Linked DNA regions of Homo sapiens: all the other regions are linked to region 3. The links are contacts of gene promoters, found by promoter capture Hi-C in blood cells and fetal thymus (Javierre and others, 2016). All regions are on one chromosome and are shown on one strand. The core of a region is centred on a gene start or on the middle of the fragment in contact, and the rest is flanking DNA. Distances in the headings are between cores, read along the strand shown.

Region 1 (3,282 bases), core at 709-3,208, 300 kb before region 3:
TCTCTATCTCCTGACCTCGTGATCCACCCGCCTTGGCCTCCCAAAGTGCTGGGATTACAGGCATGAGCCACCGTGCTCTGTTTTTTATATCTCCCATAGGTTTTGGTATTTTGTGTTTCTATTTTCATTTGATTCAAAAAATTTTTAATTTTCTTCTTAATTTCTTTATTGTCCCATTGGTTATTCAGAAGCATGTTATTTCATTTCCATGTATTTGTACACTTCCTAAAGTTACTCTAGTGATGGATTTTTAATTTTATTCCATTGTGGGCAACATGGATACTTGATATGATTTCAATTTTTAAAAATTTGTTGAGATTTGCTTCGTAGCCTAACATATGGCATGTTCCATGTGCTGATGAGAAAAATGAGTTATTCTGCAACTATTAAATAAAATATTCTGTAAATGTCTGTTAGGTCCATTTGGTCTATGGTGCAGTTTAAATCCGGTGTTTCTTTGTTGATTATCTGTCTAGATAATCTGCCCAATGCTGACAGTGGGGCATTTAAGTCCTCAACTATTATTGTATTGATATCTATCTCTCCCCCTAAATCTAATGATATTTGCTTTATATATCTGAGTGCTCCAGTGTTGAGTACATATTTATTTAGAATTGTTATATCCTCTCACTGAATTGATCCCTTTATTATTATATAATTACCTTCTCTGTATCTTTTTATAGCTTTTGACTTGAAGTCTGTTTAAGTCTGATACAAGCATAGCTGCTCTTGTTTATTTTTGGTTTCTGCTTGCATGGAATATCTTTTTTCATCCCTTCACTTTCAGTCTATGTGTGTCTTTGTAGGTGAAGTGAGTTTCTTGTAAGCAGTATATAGTTGAGTCTTGATATTTTTTTATCTATTCAGCCAGCCTATATCTTTCTAATTGGGGATTTAATGTTTACATTCAAGATTTTGTTTTTCGTTCAAGATTATTGATAAGTAAGAAAAAAACTCCTGACATTTTGTTAATTGTTTTCTGGTTGTTTTAGATTTCTTTTCTTCCTTTCTTCCTCTCTTATTGTTTATCTTTGTGATTTGGTGGTTTTCTGTAGTGATGAGGTTTGATTCCTTTCTCTTTCTCATTTGGATAACTGTTCTACCTGTGAGTTTTATACTTTCACGTGATTTCATGATGGCAGTAATCATCCTTTTCCTCCAAACGTAGGACTTTCTTAAGCATTTCTTATAAGGCTAGTCTAGTGATAATCAATTCCTTCAGCTTTTGCTTGTCTGGTGATGTAGTTTAAATGTGTGTCCCTGCCCAAATCTCATGTTGACTTGTAATCCCATGTTAGAGGTGGGGCCTGGTGAAAGGTGACTGGATCATAAAGGCAAATTTATCATGAATAGTTTATCACTATCCCCTTGGTGTTGTCCTCAGTAGTGAGTTCTCTTTTTTTTTTTTTTTTTTTTTGAGACGATGTCTTGCTCAGTCGCCCAGGCTGGAGTGCAGTGGCGTGATCTTGGCTCACTGCAAGCTCCGCCTCCTGGGTTCACGCCATTCTCCTGCCTCAGCCTCCCAAGTAGCTGGGACTACAGGGGCCTGCCACCACACCCAGCTAATTTTTTTTTTTGTATTTTTTTAGTAGAGATGGGGTTTCACCGTGTTAGCCAGGATGGTCTCGATCTCCTGACCTTGTGATCCACCCACCTCAGCTTCCCAAAGTGCTGGGATTACAGGCATGAGCCACCACACCCAGCCAGCAGTAAGTTCTCATGAGATCTGGCCCCTTAAAAGTATATGGCACTTCCCCACCTTCTCTTGCTCCTGCTTTCTCCTTGTAATGTGCCTGCTCCTTCTTTGCTTTCTGCCATGATTGGAAGCTTCCTGAGGCCTCCCCAGAAGCAAGATGCCACTATGCTTCCTGTACAGCCTGTAGAACCATTAGCCCATAAAACCTCTCCTTTTATAAATTACCCAATCTCAGGTACTTCTTTGTAGCAATGCAAGAACGGCCAAATACACCTGGGAAAGTCTTTATTTCTCCTTCATTCTGAAGGATAACTTTGGTGGGTATAGTATTCTTTGCTGGCAGTTTTGTTCTTTCACCACTTTGAATATGTCATCCTATTCTCTCCTGGCTTGTAAGCTTTCTGCCAAGGAATCTGCTGTTTCTCTAATGGGGATTTCCTTGTGTGCAATAACACTTTTGTCTTGCTGTTTTTAGAATTATTTGTCTTTTTGACAGTTTTACTATAATGTGACTTGAAGGGGACCTTTTTGGGTTGAATCTATTTGGGAAACTTTGAGCTTCCTGGATTTAACATCTATATCTCTCCTAAGATTTGGGGAGTTTTCAGCTGTTATTTCATTAAATGGGTTTTTCTATATCTTTTCCCATTTCTCCTTAAACATCCATAGTGTAAATATATGTTCACTTAATCATGCCTCACAAGTCCCTTAGGCTGCTTTCTTCATTCTTTTCTTTGTTTTAAAGACAGAGTCTCTGCTACCCAGGCTGGAGTGCAGTGTATGATTATAGTTTACTGCAGCCTCAAACTCCTGGGCACAATGATCCTTCCACCTTAGCCTCGCAAGTAGCTGGGACTGCAGATGCATGCAACCACACCTGGCTAATCTTTTTCCCCCAGAGATGGGGTCTGACTTTGCTGCCCATGCTGGTCTCAAATTCCTAGGCTCAAGCAATTCTCCCACATCAGCCTCTCAAGTAACTAAAATTACAGGCATGAGCCCATGTGCCCAGATTTTTCTTTTTAACTTTTTATTTTTGGTGGTCTGACTGGGTTATTTCAAAAGTCTTTTTGAATTCTTTCAAAAGAGTTTCAGAAATTCTTTCTTCTGCTTGATCTACTCTATTGTTGAAGCTCTCAACCATATTTTTTATTTGTTAAATTCTTCAGCTCCAAATTTTCTGTTTGGTTTCTTTTTTTGATATCTATTTATTTGTTGAATTTCTCATTCAGATCGTGAATTTCTCTCCTAATTTTGTTAAATTGTCTATCTGTATTCTTTTGTATCTCACTGAGTTACCTTAAGATCATTATTTTGAATTTCTTTTCAGGCATTTCATTGATTTCCTTTTCTTCAAGTCTGTTACTAGAGAATCATTGTGTTCCTTTGGAGGTGTCATCAGATCAGCCCAAGGAACATCTCACCAATTTCAAATCAGGAAGCGGTCTCTTCACTCTCTTCTCCAGCCTCTCTTGCTACCCTTCAGTCTCCCTATCCTTCCAATTCCAGTTCTTTTCCTTTCTAGTAGAGACAAAGGAGACACATTTTATCTGTGAACTCAAAAACTCCAATGTCCGTCACAGATT
Region 2 (3,293 bases), core at 555-3,054, 470 kb after region 3:
GGAAAGCATGCGTCACTTTAGAGGTCATTTACATACAGTGGCCAGTATTATTAGATTTTCAGAAAAGGAGTGAAAAATGTTTTAATGTTAGGTATAAGAAGGAACATACTGAGAAGTGTGGTTTTAAAAAATCCCCATCCCCAAATAATTAAAGCTTCTATCCACAGCATGATCATCATTTCAGTATACATAATCTGCAGCTGCTGCATGGCATTTAAATGAAGGATTAGTAAATGCATGCTACAGCCTCAGTTATTTTTCTAACATAGGTCACCACAAGAAATATGTACACAACAGGTTTGATTTATATCCTCAATATTTCAGTAGTTATGGTGCCTTGAAGAAGCAAAACAAATTGGAGTCAAGACATTTGTAATATTTATTTTGCCTAAAGTAAAAAATATGACAGAATTAGAATAACCATCATTTGAAATTATTTCATTCAGGCAACCAACTATACGCTAAGATACAAGTAGGTGATTTTCCCCTGAAGTTTGAAAAGAAGGACCAGTCTCTGAAACATGTCCTCTGGTTTTCTACTTCTCCCAAATATCTTCTCTTGCAAAGTTCATCATTAAAGCTCTTTGAGGATTATTTCAGACCCCTACATGCTATGTCTGGGACACAAGAACAGTCTTAAAGAGAATGTCCTGAAGCTCATCCACCTCAGTGTGCAGGGCTGGAGCTCATGTATATGTACTTTGGCTCTCACCAGAAGTGGTGAATCTTAGGGTTCTGGGTCTTATTGTTTTAAGAGATATGATGTGAGCCAGGCTGCTTAGTATGAACCACCGACAGATGAAATGATGGCTTATGAAAGAAAGTTAATGTAAAATATTAGCCCATGTGAGCTAGCATAATCAGTTGTTTTTATTAAAATGTTATGTGTTTGTTGCATTAGGAAAAGGAAGTGGATTGGATACCCCTTTGTTCCCACATATCTTCAGTCTTTTTACACTTAGCACTACCGGCTATTTTTAGCATGCTTGTTGTCTGCCTATCCTGTTACAACATCACCTCCACAAGGACAGGGAATTTGCCTGTGTTGTTCACTGTTATACCCACTCCACTTCCTAGGAAATGCCTAGAAATAGAAGGAACTCAGTAAATACTTCCTGGGTGAGTAAATACATGAGAAAATTATTTGTGTGCATGGATAGTTGCAAAGATCACTATGGCATAAGCAGAGGCTTCCCCACTCGGGTTACAGCAGTGCGGTTCTTTGTTTGCAAACTGCAGTTACCAGCTGAAGCATCTGCTGTGATTTTTTTTTTTAATCTACTTCAGTTTACTTGAAGGGTTTCCTAAGAAGACAGTGTGCTGGTTTATGAAGCTATTGTCTCTCTACTTCAAACCCACCTTTCCTTACTCAGCTTTATGGCACTGGGGCTGGGATGATAGGAAATAGAGTTTTGGCTGCCTGTGAGGCTTCTCTGAGAGGGAGGCACTGGATGCTTGCTGGAAGGCTAGAAAGGGAGGGAGGGAAGGAGAAGTCCCTGTTCCTGGCAGCGGCATCCGCCAGCAACAACCGCCCTCTCTTGGCAGCAGCAATTGGTCTGGTTCTAGTCTCCACCTTCTTTCTACACTTTTTCTGCAAAGTTACCCATAGCAGCCAGGCAGTGCCCTCTCCTCAGAGATCTGGTCCGAGTCTGACAATGGCTCTGCCGGGCATCTTCTCTGATTAGGGCAGCTTTCAGACAGCTGATTGCTCATTAGGAACACCTGGGACGGAACCGCAATTTCTTCCCTTTATTCTACCTTCTCTATTTAGCTTAGCCAATTCCTTATAACTGATTATAATTAATTTATAATACATTCCATCTGTTATAATATGCTTTCTAGTTTCCTGACCCGGACTCTGATGGATCATGTTCTTTATCCTACAGCTATGTGTGTTTCTGCAAATTCTATATTTCAAAGCTCTTAACAATTCACAAACTTGCAGGACTTCTTTTAATTTAATTTAAAATGATAGTGGGGTTTCTTTTAATTTAAAAATGTTTTTCTGTTGGTGGGTATTTAAACACATAAAACAAATAGAGATTTACACAAAATACAAATGCTCCAGTCTTACTTATCAATTTTTAACACATTTCCATCGGATTAATGTTCTCTTACTTTCAAACTCCCTCTTTTTAAAAATGCAGAACAGAAACCCCAATCGTTCATGAATTCTCAGAGCATCCCTTTCTGTGATAATAGAGTGGAGAAAAACTTCCTGTGGGTCTGCAATCCTATCCCCGCACAGGTAAAATACTTCTTTGTTTTTTCATGTGGAATATTTTGAGCAGTTTTCAGGATGTTCCAATCTCGACAGCCCACTCGCTTGTCCCTGTGGCGTCTGAGGGGATGCTGACACATGGAGTTTGAGAACCACACTTTAAGAAGTTGTTCTTTCCTGTGGGGCAGAATTAGGGCAGCTTTCCGACAGCTGATTGTTCATTAAGAACACCTGGGGTGGGACCAGAAGGAGGACAGAAAGTGCCATCTGAGATTGCAGAAATTCTCTTTAATTTCACAATTATGCCCATAGCAGGCTTTCTGTGGCAGAGTTGTTGACCTAAGGTTCAGAAGACAATCTGACTTGGCTAATGACAGCATTTTCTCATGATCTGCAAAACATGAAGAAATGATGCAGTGGGAAGGTTGAAGCCATCGGTATAGTGAGTTGCTTGACCTGCAGAGAAGTCATAAGTTCATTTATCTTCCTCTCAGCAATGACTTAAACTCCTGTCTATTGAGTGCCTCCGAGGCGCAAGACAGGATGCTAGGCACTTGATTCTTCACACACTTGTGGAGTAGGTATTATAATAAGAGCACTGATCACCAGTCTTGAGCTCATAATTAAATGCCCCACAACTAGAATGTGGTCGAGCTAGTCCTTAGTTAAATCTAGGGGTAAAGTCTGGTTGTTTTGACTTTTTTACCCTCCTTCCACCATAAAGCATAACATATTCTCACATGGAAACCTGCAGGGCAATTCCCCTGCTTTACATTAATGAGGGACAAATACGATTTGTGTCTTTTACTGTGTCTAATCTCCCACGGTTCTCACAGCTTCTTTTAAATTTATATGACTTTTCCATTTTCATAAAAAGATAGGATGCCGTTTCTTATCTTTTTGGATCAATGTTATGGTATCAGTATTGATTCTTAAAGAAGTCCTTTAGAGGTTCAGCTCTGAAGCTATTGATCATTCAAAAGTTCCTCCTTTATTTAATTTTCATGTCACTTCAGTCTTTGAAACTTTAGGTTTCACATTTCCTCTGTATGTAGCTTTCCAGTGGAAGACA
Region 3 (3,227 bases), core at 68-2,567:
AAAACATTATAAATAGCTTCATATCAATAAAAACAATAACTTAGAAAGAAGGGATAAATTCCTTGAAAGATACATTTTTAAAACTAACTCAAGAAGAGTTAGAAAACTGAAATAGTTCTGTAGCAGTGAAAGAAATTAAATTTACAATTAATAACTTTTCAACAAATAAAAACCTTCATATCTAGCTTCACGCGTGAATTCTATTAAACACTTAAAGAAGAAAATGGGCTGGGCACAGTGGCTCACACCTGTAATCTCAGCATTTTGGGAAACCAAGGCAGGAGGATCACTTGAGCCTAGGTGTTTGAGGCTGCAGTGAGCTATGTTCACACCACTGTACTCCAGCCTGGGGGACAGAGTGAGACCCTGTCTTTAAAAATAAATAAATAAATAAATAAATAGAATAAAATAACACTAATCATATACATGCTCTTAAAACACTTAGGAGAAAGAAATAATTCCACATTTAGGATATGAGGATAAGCTTATCCTAAAACAAAAACCATCATAAGAAAAGCAGACTACAAACAAATATGTCTCATGAATGTAAATGAAAAAAATCATTAACACGTTAGTAAACTGAACTAAAAATAAATACAGAGAATAACACATCATGACTGAGGATTAACCCAGGAATTTCAAGTGGTTTAACATCTGAAAATCAATCAATGTAACTTATCATATTAATAAAGGAAAAAATTCATATGATCTTTTCAACAATTGCTGAGAAAGAATTCAGAAAAATGCAACACTCATTTATTGATAAAAATATTAAAGAAAGTAGGAAGAGCAGGGACCTTCCTTAACATTATAAAGGGCATCTACAAAAAATCTGCAGTTAACATCATACTTAATGGTGAAAGACAATACTTTTCACCCTAGGTCAGGAATTGGGCAAGGATTTGCATGCTCACCACTTATGGTCTCCATTATTCTGGAGGTCTTCTCCAGCACAATCATACAAAAAAACAATCAAAGACATACAAGGGATGGAAGAAGTCAAACTGTCTTTATTTAGAGATGTCATGATTGTATATATAGAAAATCCCAAGGAATCTACAAAAAAGCTATTAGAAAGATCTCAGGATAATAATGTACAAAAAAATCGTAATACATTGTGGTAGTTTTCAAATTTCCACAAATTCTTTGGCACCCTTCTCTTTAAAAGGTGGATTCTAATCGCCTTTCCTTGAATGTGGGCTGGTCATAACACCTTGCTTCTAATTAATAGAACCTGGTGGAAGTGAGCGTGTGTGACGTCTGAGGTGAGGTCACAATAGGCATTACTATTTCTGCCTTGTTCTTTTGGATGGCTTCGTCTGGAGCCAGGGGTCTTGCCATGAAGGACATTCAAGCAGTTCTGAGGAGAGGCCCAAGTGAAGAGGAACCAGTTGCCAGCACCACCCTGTCAGCTATGTTAGTAAGTCGTTTTGGAAGTGCATGTTCCAGTCTCAGTTAAGCTATCAGAGATTTTAGCCCCTCAGTCATTGAGTCTTCCAGCTGAGGCCCCAGTCACAGTAGAGACAAATTATCCCCACTGTGCCCTATCTAAATTCCTGATCCACAGAAACCATGAGTAACTAAATCATTATTGTTTTTAGCCACTAATGTTTGGAGCAATTTGTTATGTGGCAATGGGTAACCAATAAATACATATGAGCAACAAACAACTGAAAAAAGAATAAAAAACATTTTGATTACAGTAGCATCAAACATTACTTAGGATTTAACTTACTTAAAGGTATGTAAGACCTAAATACTGAAAACTACATGATATGACTCAAATTAAAGACTGAAATAAACAAATAGATTATATTAGTAGATTGGAAGACTCAATGTTGTTGACAAGTAAATTTTCTCTGGATTGGTTAAAACTATCAGATCTTTGTGCTGAGGTCTTCACACAATTGTATTGGCTGCCATTTCAGTGCCGTCATTTTCTAGTGATTTATCTCTTTGTCTTACCTCCTTGATTATTAATTTGCATTGCCAAAATAAGTAAATGTGTGGGGAGGGCTAGTGCAAGGCTTCTCCATTCCTTACTCAGCCTTAGCTGTTACTAGGCAAACAGACCATGTATTCAAAACCCTTCTTGTTAGGGACAGAAACTCCTAGAACAAGGCCATTCAAAGCCACTTTCCTTTGGGTATCCAGTGCCTCAGGCAAGTGTTTTTTGTTGTTGTTGTTGTTTTGTTGTTGTTTGTTTGTCTTTTTTAACAGGGCCCCTGCCTATATAAACAATTTGATTAAAAACATATATTTAAAAATTCATCAGTACATGTGAGATATGATGATTTATCATTGAAGATTTAGGATGATGGGCAGAGAAAGGCAATCTGTTTTGTCTATTGTCCAATCAGTGCACGTGAAGATTTGTTACAGTATCCAGGTACCATCTCTTTGTATTCTTTATTATTAAATGCATTGTTCTTGGCTAATTTCCTATTTTTTGTTATGAGAAAAAGGTAGCAATACTGTTATTACAAAACCATGACTTTTTGGAACCTGTTTGTTTTGAAACAACACAGATCTCCTTGCCTCTGCAGTTCCCTAACACCATTTTCTTAATGACTTTGCGACATCTACCACTCTACCTGTGAATCCTGGCTTCTAATGACTCAAAAATCCTTATTATGCTTTGTTAATGATGACCACAAATGCAAGCCTTACCCAGAGTGTTAAAAAAATTGTGAATGATAATTTGTTTTATGGTTACTAAAGCTACACTGGGAATTTTACAGTGTAAACATAGATCGACATGTTTTCTGTTGGACTCTTCAGGCTAATTGCTGCCTCCCTAGAATGTAATCTCTTTGTTGTTGTTCTTGAGACGAGGCCTCACTCTGTCCCCCAAGCTGAAGTGCAGTGGTGCTATCTCGGCTCCCTGCAACCTCTGCTTCCAGGGCTCAAGCTGTTCTTCAGCCTCAGCCTCCCAAATAGCTGGGATTACAGGCATGAGCTACCAACACTCGGCTGATTTTTTTGTATTTTTGCAGAGACGGGCTCTTGCCATGTTGCCCAGGTCTCAAACTCCTGAGCTCAAGATAATCCGCCCACCCTGGCCTCCTAAATTGCTGGGATTACAGGCATGAGCCTGCTTAGCCTGTTTAAATGTTAAGTGCATGTATTTGAAAGTAGGTACATAAAAAGATAAAAGAACAGGCTAAAAGCCCCAGGAAAATTTAAGTAAAGTTTTCATAATTTAAGGCTTCACAATTTAAGTCAAG

The links. Contacts are between HindIII fragments. The CHiCAGO score rates a contact against its expected background, and 5 or more counts as called.
Region 1: a fragment that was not itself captured here is called in contact with the fragment with the promoter of PLBD1-AS2 in region 3 in 1 of 17 cell types (monocytes); the score reaches 5.4 in monocytes.
Region 2: a contact is called between a fragment that was not itself captured here and the fragment with the promoter of PLBD1-AS2 in region 3, in 1 of 17 cell types (neutrophils). The highest score is 6.0, in neutrophils.

What each region holds. Positions count from the first base shown.
Region 1 is chr12:14,228,309-14,231,590 of GRCh38, forward strand. No RefSeq gene overlaps it. Among named protein-coding and RNA genes, the nearest start is that of ATF7IP, 140 kb to the right of the region's middle. The HindIII fragment of the contact is 266 bases long and covers 1,826-2,091 here.
Region 2 is chr12:15,000,788-15,004,080 of GRCh38, forward strand. LINC01489 (long intergenic non-protein coding RNA 1489) reads left to right here and starts at 1,046. Exons shown (of 4, transcript NR_120466.1): 1 at 1,046-1,119; 2 at 2,148-2,248. The HindIII fragment of the contact is 3,304 bases long and covers 153-3,293 here.
Region 3 is chr12:14,528,822-14,532,048 of GRCh38, forward strand. PLBD1-AS2 (PLBD1 antisense RNA 2) reads left to right here and starts at 1,318. Exons shown (of 5, transcript NR_187784.1): 1 at 1,318-1,420; 2 at 2,221-2,389. The region is part of intron 6 of PLBD1 (phospholipase B domain containing 1); the gene reads right to left. The HindIII fragment of the contact is 11,029 bases long and covers 483-3,227 here.